Linked DNA regions of Homo sapiens: region 1 is linked to region 2. Evidence: promoter capture Hi-C in human tissues and cell types (Jung and others, 2019). All regions are on one chromosome and are shown on one strand. The core of a region is centred on a gene start or on the middle of the fragment in contact, and the rest is flanking DNA. Distances in the headings are between cores, read along the strand shown.

Region 1 (4,728 bases), core at 764-3,263, 1.2 Mb before region 2:
TTACAGGTGCATGCCACCATGCCTGGCTAATTTTTGTATTTTTAGTAGACAAGGGGTTTCACTATATTGGCCATGCTGGTCTTGAACACCTAACCTCGTGATCTGCCCACATCAGCCTCCAAAGTGCTGGGATGACAGGCGTGAGCCACCACACCAGGCCGAAAACATTGTCTTGTTTTAAGAGTTGTCACTTTGGCCAGGTGAGGTGGCTCATGCCTGTAATCCCAGCACCTTGGGAGGCCGAGGTGGGCAGATCATGAGGTCAGGAATTCGAGACCAGCCTAGCCAACATGGTGAAACCCCATCTCTACTAAAAAAATACAAAAATTAGCTGGGTGCGGTGGCGTGTGCCTGTAATCCCAGCTACTTGGGAGGCTGAGGCAGGAGAATTGCTTGAACCCAGGAGGCAGAGGTTGCAGTGCGTGGAGATCACGCCACTGCACTCCAGCCTGAGTGACAGAGCAAAATTCCGTCTCGGAATTGTCACTTTTTGAGACAGTCACGGCGAATGTCACTGAGCCTGAGCAAATGCTGCTCCTTGCCAGGCTTTCTCATATGCAGGGTCTGAGGCTCAGAGGGTAAGAAACTTTCCAAAGACGCACAGCAGAGGACTGGGGATCTGGATGCTGACCTATAGGATTGAGTCCATGCCTTGTGCTGCCCTAACAGAAAGTCCTGGGAAGGGCTGAGCTCAGGATACAAGCTTTACTAGGTGCAATAAATAGGTCACTGCTGGGCTGGTTCTCCTGAGGTCTCACTATCAGCTTTGGAGAAGATGCCTTTGTTCTTTCTGACTTTTGGCCCAGGAATCTTTATTAACTACTGTGATCAGGAGAAAGAGCCTGTGACAAATTGGAGGGTTGCCTATGGGGCCTCTAGGTTGCAGGGACAGAGAGATGTGTAGAGACTGAGGGAAGCAAAGGTGCATGGGGGTGAAGGTGGTACCTCTCCCTCTGCTGGTAAACAAGAACAGCCCCTCCACAACAGCCTCCCTTCCAGATGCCTGGGGTTTGCTGCTTGGAACCAAGCACCGTAGTCATCTCCTCTCCCCTGCCCTTCCTGTTCCTCTGAAGCTGAAGTCACTTCCCTGGATGATGCCTGGATAGAAGCAGGTGAGAGGGGAAAGTGCCTTGGGTGGAGGGAAACTTGTGAGATGAAAGAGGCCTCCTGAGGGGCTGTCAATCATCTAGGGCAATCTTTTTCTTTTTCTCTCTCTCTCTTTTTATTTTAATTAAGATGGAGTCTCGCTCTGTCACCTAGGCTGGAGTGCAGTGGTGAGATCTCAGCTCACTGCAACCTCTGCCACCCGGGTTCAAGTAATTCTCCTGCCTTAGCCTCCCAAGTAGCTGGAATTACAGGCACATACCACCACACCCAGCTAATTTTTGTATTTTTAGTGGAGATGGGGTTTCACCATGTTGGCCAGGCTGGTCTCAAACTCCCAACCTCAGGTGATCCGCCCACCTTGGCCTCCCGAAGTGCTGGGATTACAGGCAAGAGCCACCGAGCCCAGCCTTGAGGGTGATCTTTATCCTTTCCCAAGTTCAGTGAGTTGTACTCAAATCCCTCCTCAGAAATCCTCTTCATAAGAAGTCTCTATTTCATCCCATGCCCCCAGTCCTTTCCTCAGTGAGCCCAGATAGGCCTAGAACTGTGAGTCAGGATTTCTTCCAAAAGGATGAAAGTTTTGATGAGTGAAGTAAATATTTTCCCAATCAAAATGAAAAGTAAGAAAAGAAGAAGAGAAAGGAGAGGAAGAAAGAAAGAGAGAGAGAGAGAGAAAGAAAAAGAAAGAAAGAAAGAAAGAAAGAAAGGAAGGAAGGAAGGAAGGAAGGAAGAAGGAGAGAAAGAGAAGAAAGAAGAGAGAGAGGGAGAGGAGGGAAGGGGAGGGGGAGGTAAAGGGACAAACTAAAAGGAAAACAGAGGGGAGGGAGAGAAAGGAAAAAGTTTGGAAACTTCCTAGGATGAGCTGACTTCCCTCTAGCTGTCCTGCTCCCTCTCCCTCTTCCTCTCCCTCTCCCTCTGCCTCTTCCCTCCCCCCATCTGTCTCTCACTCTTGCTTTTGTTCTTGTGCTTGCTCTCTCCCCGTCTCTCTTTCACTTTCTCTTTTGTTCTTGCTCTCTCTGTCTCTCTCTCTCCACCTCATTTTCCACTTTTTCACATACCATGAAGCAGAAAAGAAACTTATCTTGAAAAGATTCATCCAGGACGAGGTGTCACCCACACACTGATGACTGTTGGGGGCAGGGTGGTTAATTCTTTCACAGAGAGAAACTTCTCTCTGGGGAGAGCAGAGAGAGAAGAGGTGGAATTTTTTACTCACAGAGACTGACAAGATAAAATTAGAGAATTTGGGTCTAGAAGGCCAAGCAGTAAAAATAAATATGGAAAGAACATCCTCATGGAATGTTCCACAACCTGCGTCCTTCCCAACCCTACTGCCTTCTCTCCATGGCCCTGGAAGCTCATGTCTAGGGGGAGTTTTATCTGGGGCAGTAATGGAGAGAAGGAGGTTCTAAAAAGAACGGTTACCATCACGTAGGAGTTTTGTATTTCGGACCTCAAATCTGTGTGGACAATAACTGGAACCCTTTTGATATTCAATAACTGAAATTTATTTCTCCTTTAGTGCCCATTTCACCTGTTGGCAGAAGCTTGTTTTTAGCCACATCAGGCTCTCTAGCCCTCCCCACCCAGGACTTTGCTGACTCAAAGGCCGGATTGCTCTGTCCACAGTCTCCAGCACCCCCCGCTCCCTCTCTTGCTGGAGCCATGCTGGGTACCCAGAAACCTCATGCCCAGTCTTGGCCCATCTTCCCAAATTACTATTTCCATTTTTTCTTTCCTGGTAATTTCTTTACCCTGTAGCCATCCCCCCATTACTACTGTACCTCGAGTCCCCTGGGGCTTCAGAGAAAGTCTGCTAACAACAGAAAAGGCAGAAGCCCTGAGCCCGCATCACTCTGATCCTAAAGGAGGAGGAGAGCTCCTTAGTGGCTGCAGCCTGTTTAACTTTTGTCTGCTTTCACATGACTTCAGGACTCTGAAAGATCAAGCAAAAACCAGGATCTTGGCACAGAACAAAAGTGAAATGGCATTTTTGCCCAAATATTAATAAACGCAAATGCACACCCCTGTTGTCCCTGTTGGACATGCTGGGGGACCGTGGATTTTCTCAGTCACTAATGGGAGAAATGTAAATGATAATCAGATCTTGTGGTGGGTAACTTGGTGATTGGTGTCACAAATCTTAAAACTTTTGAGCACTTATCACTTCTGCTTGGAAGAATTATAATCCTGTGCAAAAAATTGCATATGCACCTAAAATATATGTAGAGAATATTTATTTAAGTATTGCTTAAATATTAGTTAATAATTCAACACAATCTGAAAGTCCCCAAATAGGGGATTGGCTGAATGTATTAGGGTACTTCCATAAAATGGAGGAAACATGCAGCCATGAAAGTTTGCTGTACATGATATTTCACCATATTAAAAAATCAATGATATATTGCTAAGTGCAAAATGCAATTTTTTTTTTTGAGACGGAGTCTCGCTTTGTTACCCAGGCTGGAGTGTAGTGGCACGATCTTGGCTCACTGCAAGCTCCGCCTCCCGGGTTCAAGCGATTCTCCTGCTTCAGCCTCCCGAGTAGCTGGGATTACAGGCACCTGCCACCACGTCCAGCTAATTTTTGTATTTTTAGTAGAGACGGGGTTTCACCATGTTGGTCAGGCTGGTCCCCAACTCTTGACCTCAAGTGATCCATCCTCCTCGGCCTCCCAAAGTGCTGGGATTACAGGGGTGAGCCACTGCGCCCGGCCTATTCTTTTCTTTTCATCAAATTTTTTTCTCCCACAGAAAGCCCAATAGAAAACAGCACAGTGTTAAGCCTTCTTGGCTATACAAGCTCGAAGAATACTTCACAGAAATGAAAAACCATTTGTGTTCCACACCTACCCAGGCTGGTAATGAGACAGGTGTTTTGTTTGTAGCTGAAAGTTAAAGATTATACCTCTTGCTGAATTCGAAATGAGTTCACCAAAAAACAAAGCAAAACCTTCCAAAACAAACAAAAGATCCACCACGCCCCATGTGTTGTTTCAGTAAATCCACTTTCTTGCTGACTGTCTCGCTCCTCCTCATTGTTCTTCCTATAAAATGGATCACTTGGCCCACAAGCACATGAGCCAAACAGATCTTAATGATCACTGGCGACATTGAAATCCAAGAACACAGGAGCTGTTGAAGCCTGAGACCAAATCTGGGAAGGGAGAATTGAAAAGGACAAGAAAATCGTCCCACAAAGGATTTGAACACACACGGAAGTGGCATGTTAAAACGATATGTGCACCATGAAGAATCTTGAAGAGAAAATTGTAGTTGGGAAGTTTCTTAGTAAGGGGAGAGGGAGTTCTTACTATATACATTATATTAACATATTAACGTTAATCAATATTAATTTCTGGAAGAATATACTTCACTAAAATGAAAAAAGGTTTGATGTTGAAGAAATTGAGACACAAAAGAGAATCCATTTATTTAACTTGGGGAGTTAGTTTCACTTTGGTTTATTTATGATATTTCAATATGCTGACTTTAATTTTTTTGGATACGCTATATTAGTACATATTTGTGGGGTACATGCACAGAATGTGTGATGATCTAGTCAAGATATTGATCATTTCCACGTGTTGGGTACACATCAAGTCCTCTCTTGTAGCTATT
Region 2 (5,222 bases), core at 1,036-3,535:
GTCCTTTTCCCCCACAAGCTTCTCCCCTGGGCTCTTTCCATTTAAAGCACACACACACACACACACACACACACACACACACTGAACTCTATGTCAGTAGAGCTCCTTTAAGATCCTATCTGTCCTCCCCACTCCAGCTTCTATTTTATGAAAATAATTATATTTTAGGCACTTAGAGCATTGGTTTAGTGAACACATTATATTTACTTTCATATTTAGTTATGTATTTTTAAGTTATTCCACACAAAATGACAAATGAGGGCAAGAGAAAAAAATACCATGAAATATATGGGGACGCACCCCCCAAAAACGCTCAGCAGTCAGTCAGAAATTCTTAGAAAGTGGAAACAACTGCGAAGCCCTACCCCAACCCAATCAAAACATCCCACCCGGAAAAGAGCGACTTGTTTCTTTTTTCTATTGGAAATGAGTGGTAAACTGAGTTCGGTTTGGCGGTGTTTTCTTAGCTGACTCTCGGCTACAATCAAGCCATTTTCGGACACATTCCCATGTAGGTACCAGGGGTGCTCTGGAGGAAGCTGTCGACGCCTGTTCAGCTAATTTAGGTTTTCTTTGTCTAATTACTGTGGAGCTTAGGGAGAAGGAGCCGGCTCAGGGCAGTAAACTGACACTCGGTCTCTGTGTGTGGTATCCAGGCAGGGTTTGATGGAAAAAGCCTGCTTCCACTCAACCTCAGGTCACTGTCTGGGGCCAGCCCCGGCCCACCCCCCTCCCACATACCCCTCCCCTCCCCACCCGCCCTCTCTGCATCTACAGCCCCACCAGCACACTCAGCCAGGAGCAGTCCCCCGGCACTCCAGGGGCACACAGGGCTCCTGCCGCCCCAGGGGGCCTGCCTAGGCTGTGCGGCTGTGAAGGCTCTTTGCCTGGTGTCTTCCTCCTGATTACTGCACAACCTCCCTTTCTCCTGCCTCCTGCAACTCCCCAGGCTCCCCAGCAGGCACACCCGTGCACCTCGGTCCTTTCAGCCTAGACGCAGCGGGGTGCCCAGCTCTACCTCCTGTTTGGTCCGCTGGTCTGCAGCACCTTCTTTCTGGGCCTCCCCCTTCAGCCCTTGGGAGGCCCCGCCAGCTCCGGCCTCCTGCTCTCCTCCTCCCTCTCCCAGCTCCTATCCCTGGTCGGACTACATTTCCCTGCACGTGTAATCCAATAACTAACTGTCGGGTCTCATTGGAAGTGATTGCTCCCGAGGGCACATCTCTCTCAGAGCCTGACTCTTACTTAGGGAGGAATTAGCCACAACTGGGGAGAAGTGTTCTCGGACAGGAGTTAGCTGAGACCTGGCACAGTTTTGGGTGGGCAATGTTAAGACGGAGGATGTAAACCTAGTGACAGCTGCACACCCCTTCAGGACTGACTATAAATATAGCCATCTCGCTTATCTCAGGGTCTTTCTTTTTCTTTCTCTTTCTTTCTTTTCTTCCTTCCTTCCTTTTTCTTTTGCACTTTTTTCTTACAGAACACTAACTGGGGTGCGGGGGTGGGGGGAAGAAGTGGAAGCAAATGCAACCCTAAGTCCCATGAGATCCAGGTTTCCAGAGTCTTTGAAACTTGGCCTAGGTTTCTCAGTGTAAATCCCTCTGCTCAAAGTTCCGAAAACGTCCACGATCGCCAGCGGCCCGCAACCCTGCGGCGGCCCCCAGTCGCCCTAACAATTGTCGGGGAGCCTGCAGGCCCTGCCAGAAAGAGAGAGGATTGGCACGTTACCTTTGGGCGTCTGGCACCCCGGCGTGTGGCTGAGGGCGGCAAAGTCTAAACGAAGTTGACAGATGGAGTCAGTATCGGCCCTGGGGAGGGCGGCCAGGGAGGCTCCGAGCAGCCGCACCCGCAGCAGCACCACTCGGCCCGGCGGGCCAGGAGGAGGAAGGGGGCGCGGAGGGGCGGGGCTGGGTCCTGGGATGGGACGCGGGGCTTGCTGCGGGGGGCAAACAGAAAGAATATTTCATGAAGTCAGAGGTGGTCGAGTTTTGCGAGGGGTGGGGGTCGTCCCCCTGGCAGAACCGGAGTGAGTCTGTGATCCCTCAATTGGAAAGAGGGTGAGTGAGGGAAAGGGGAGGAGGCCGCGAGAGGAATGAAGAGCGAGGAGACCCTGGAGAGCGGGGAGCGAGATAAGAGAGGGAGGCGGCCGCCAGGTCGGGAGGGGGAGGAGTGAGCGCGGCGGCGCGGAGCGAGGAGGGGGCAGGGCGGGGTGGGGGGGGAGGGAGGGAGGGAGGGAGCGAGGAGGGCGGCCGGGGAGGGCGAGGGAGGGAGGAAGTCCGAGAGACAGAGCGAGGAGCGCTCCTGAAGGGAGACGTCGGGCTCGTCCCCGGGGTCCAGGCCGCGGTCCCACTCGCGGGCGCAGTCGCCCGGCGCCGGCCGCTCGGCCCCGCGGCCTGGGAGGCCGTTGCGCAAGGCAGGGCCCGCGGCTCGGGGAGGGATGCGCCGGGCGTTGCCTCCCGCCCGCCGCCGCCGCCGCCGCCAGAAGCCCCAGAGGAGCTGAGGGAGGCGACGCCGAAGCGCTGGCCCGGAGTGGCCACGGCTGCAGCCCGGGCGGCGGGCTAGGGCGCTCGCAGGGCTTCTGGGCCGACCCCGCTCCGGCGCCTCCGCTTCCCGCCCGGGGCCCGCCCTCGCGGCCCGGCCTCGCTCCCGGGTCCCAGATGACCACCGAGGGCGGGCCGCCGCCGGCCCCGCTCCGCCGCGCGTGCAGCCCGGTCCCCGGCGCGCTCCAGGCCGCCCTGATGAGCCCGCCGCCCGCCGCCGCCGCCGCCGCCGCCGCCGCCCCGGAGACCACCTCCTCCTCCTCGTCGTCGTCCTCCGCCTCCTGCGCCTCGTCCTCGTCCTCCTCCAATTCGGCCAGCGCCCCCTCGGCTGCCTGCAAGAGCGCGGGCGGCGGCGGCGCGGGCGCCGGGAGCGGGGGCGCCAAGAAGGCGAGCTCGGGGCTGCGGCGGCCCGAGAAGCCGCCCTACTCGTACATCGCGCTCATCGTCATGGCCATCCAGAGCTCGCCCAGCAAGCGCCTGACGCTCAGCGAGATCTACCAGTTCCTGCAGGCGCGCTTCCCCTTCTTCCGCGGCGCCTACCAGGGCTGGAAGAACTCGGTGCGCCACAATCTCTCGCTCAACGAGTGCTTCATCAAGCTGCCTAAGGGCCTCGGGCGGCCCGGCAAGGGCCACTACTGGACCATCGACCCGGCCAGCGAGTTCATGTTCGAGGAGGGCTCGTTCCGCCGCCGGCCGCGCGGCTTCAGGCGGAAGTGCCAGGCGCTCAAGCCCATGTACCACCGCGTGGTGAGCGGCTTGGGCTTCGGGGCGTCGCTGCTGCCCCAGGGCTTCGACTTCCAGGCGCCCCCGTCGGCGCCGCTCGGCTGCCACAGCCAGGGCGGCTACGGCGGCCTCGACATGATGCCCGCGGGCTACGACGCCGGCGCGGGCGCCCCCAGCCACGCGCACCCTCACCACCACCACCACCACCACGTCCCGCACATGTCGCCCAACCCGGGTTCCACCTACATGGCCAGCTGCCCGGTGCCCGCGGGACCCGGGGGCGTCGGTGCGGCCGGGGGCGGCGGCGGCGGCGACTACGGGCCGGACAGCAGCAGCAGCCCGGTACCCTCGTCCCCGGCCATGGCGAGCGCCATCGAATGCCACTCGCCCTACACGAGCCCTGCGGCGCACTGGAGCTCGCCTGGCGCCTCGCCTTACCTCAAGCAGCCGCCTGCCCTGACGCCCAGCAGCAACCCCGCCGCCTCGGCAGGCCTGCACTCCAGCATGTCCTCCTACTCGCTGGAGCAGAGCTACTTGCACCAGAACGCTCGCGAGGACCTCTCAGGTAACGCAGCACGCTCCAGCCCAGCCAGCTGGGCGCACCGCTTCTAGGCCTCCAGGGCTGGCGGCCACTGCCACTCCCACAAACAGGGACCCCGAAGCTAGGAGGTCTGAGGGCACTGGGAAAAGCAGATGCTGGGGAAAGCCGGCATCTTATTCGTGGGAGCAGGGATCAGGGTCTTACTGTCCTCCCAGTATCCCTGGCCAGCAGCCGAAGCTTCAGAATTGTCTGGCTGCTGTGAGCGTGGTGTAAAGTCCCCTGCCTTCCTGGGCTCTTTGGGGATCCCTGTGCAGGAGACTGCAGGTCTCCCGTTCAGAGTCTCACTTAGCTTGGAGAGAAGGCATCTGGCCTTTGGGGAACTTGGTCAGGAAGCTGTGTCTAGTTCCTTTTGTCCCTTTTTTTCCTTGCGTTCATTTTGCTGTACTTCTGTCCCGAAGTAAATGTCAGAATCAGATATGTTCTGTATGTTGGGGTGTCTGCAGCGAGATGTTTGCAGCTGGGCAAGTGTTAAGAGGAGGGGGTGGGAGGGACAGAGCTGGATCCCAGGATCTTTCACTAAAGGGACATTTGCCAGTGGAGGGGGTCACCAAACTGTTGGAGACTCCTCCCCTTCCCTGCCTCCCCCCCCGCCCAACAATGGACCCACATTGATGATACAGGTCCTGGGTGGCAGGACCTGAAGGACCCTGCTAGGACTCCCCTGAGAAATGCGCCTGCCCTGTGGATGCCACTTGTAGTGTGGCTGGTTTACATTGTTCTGGTTGCAGATTATGAAAAATTATTGACTTGCTGAAGGCGGTGAAAGGTGGGAGGGGACGGTAGGGATGGAAGAGGGAATTTGAATATTTGACCAGGTTAATGTGAAGAACAGAGATAAACCCTTACATTAACCCCTCGCTCGGAGCACCTAGGGCTGCAGATTAAAATCCCATGGGCCTGCCAGTCAAAGGCAAGGCCCCAAGCTACTCTCTCACACTGGCCTCCCACAGCAATGAGACAGTGGCTTGGAGGGTGATGCATGCTTTATGTGTTCCTGAGCCGGTGTGCAGCGGGAGCACCCGGGGAGAAGGAAAGCCCAGAAATGGGCAAAAGATGTTGGTTCCCTGGACGGTGAAATTTCCCAAATAGGCCTTTTAAATGTGGGTCTCAGAGGTTAACCAAACAAAGACAGTCTCGGCAGGACCACACCGGAGAGGATTTTAGCCTGACTTAACCCACTGAGAACAGAGTCTTGTTCAATTTTATGGGAATTTCAACAAGTAACCAATACAGGCGGCCTTCCCCTCTTATTTTTGTATTCCCTTGGACCGGCTGTCAATCACACACACACACACACACACACACACACACACACACACACACCCCTCGGTGCACTGGCCCCTTCCCTTCCCCGCCTG

The links. Contacts are between HindIII fragments. The study calls those that stand out against the background at their distance.
Region 1: a fragment that was not itself captured here is called in contact with the fragment with the promoter of FOXF2 in region 2 in 1 of the 25 tissues and cell types used here (dorsolateral prefrontal cortex).

What each region holds. Positions count from the first base shown.
Region 1 is chr6:234,004-238,731 of GRCh38, forward strand. LOC105374870 (a long non-coding RNA gene) reads left to right here. Exons shown (of 3, transcript XR_926357.3): 2 at 1,000-1,112; 3 at 2,630-3,131. Among named protein-coding and RNA genes, the nearest start is that of LINC03066, 31 kb to the left of the region's middle. RefSeq lists an enhancer at 2,031-2,120. The HindIII fragment of the contact is 4,723 bases long and covers 1-4,375 here.
Region 2 is chr6:1,387,291-1,392,512 of GRCh38, forward strand. FOXF2 (forkhead box F2) reads left to right here and starts at 2,286. Exons shown (of 2, transcript NM_001452.2): 1 at 2,286-3,828. The coding sequence starts at 2,658. It overlaps FOXF2-DT (FOXF2 divergent transcript), which reads right to left and starts at 2,171. Exons shown (of 3, transcript NR_187218.1): 1 at 1,729-2,171. MIR6720 (microRNA 6720) reads right to left here and starts at 3,121; the gene lies at 3,024-3,121. RefSeq lists an enhancer at 3,468-4,333. The HindIII fragment of the contact is 13,823 bases long and covers 1-5,222 here.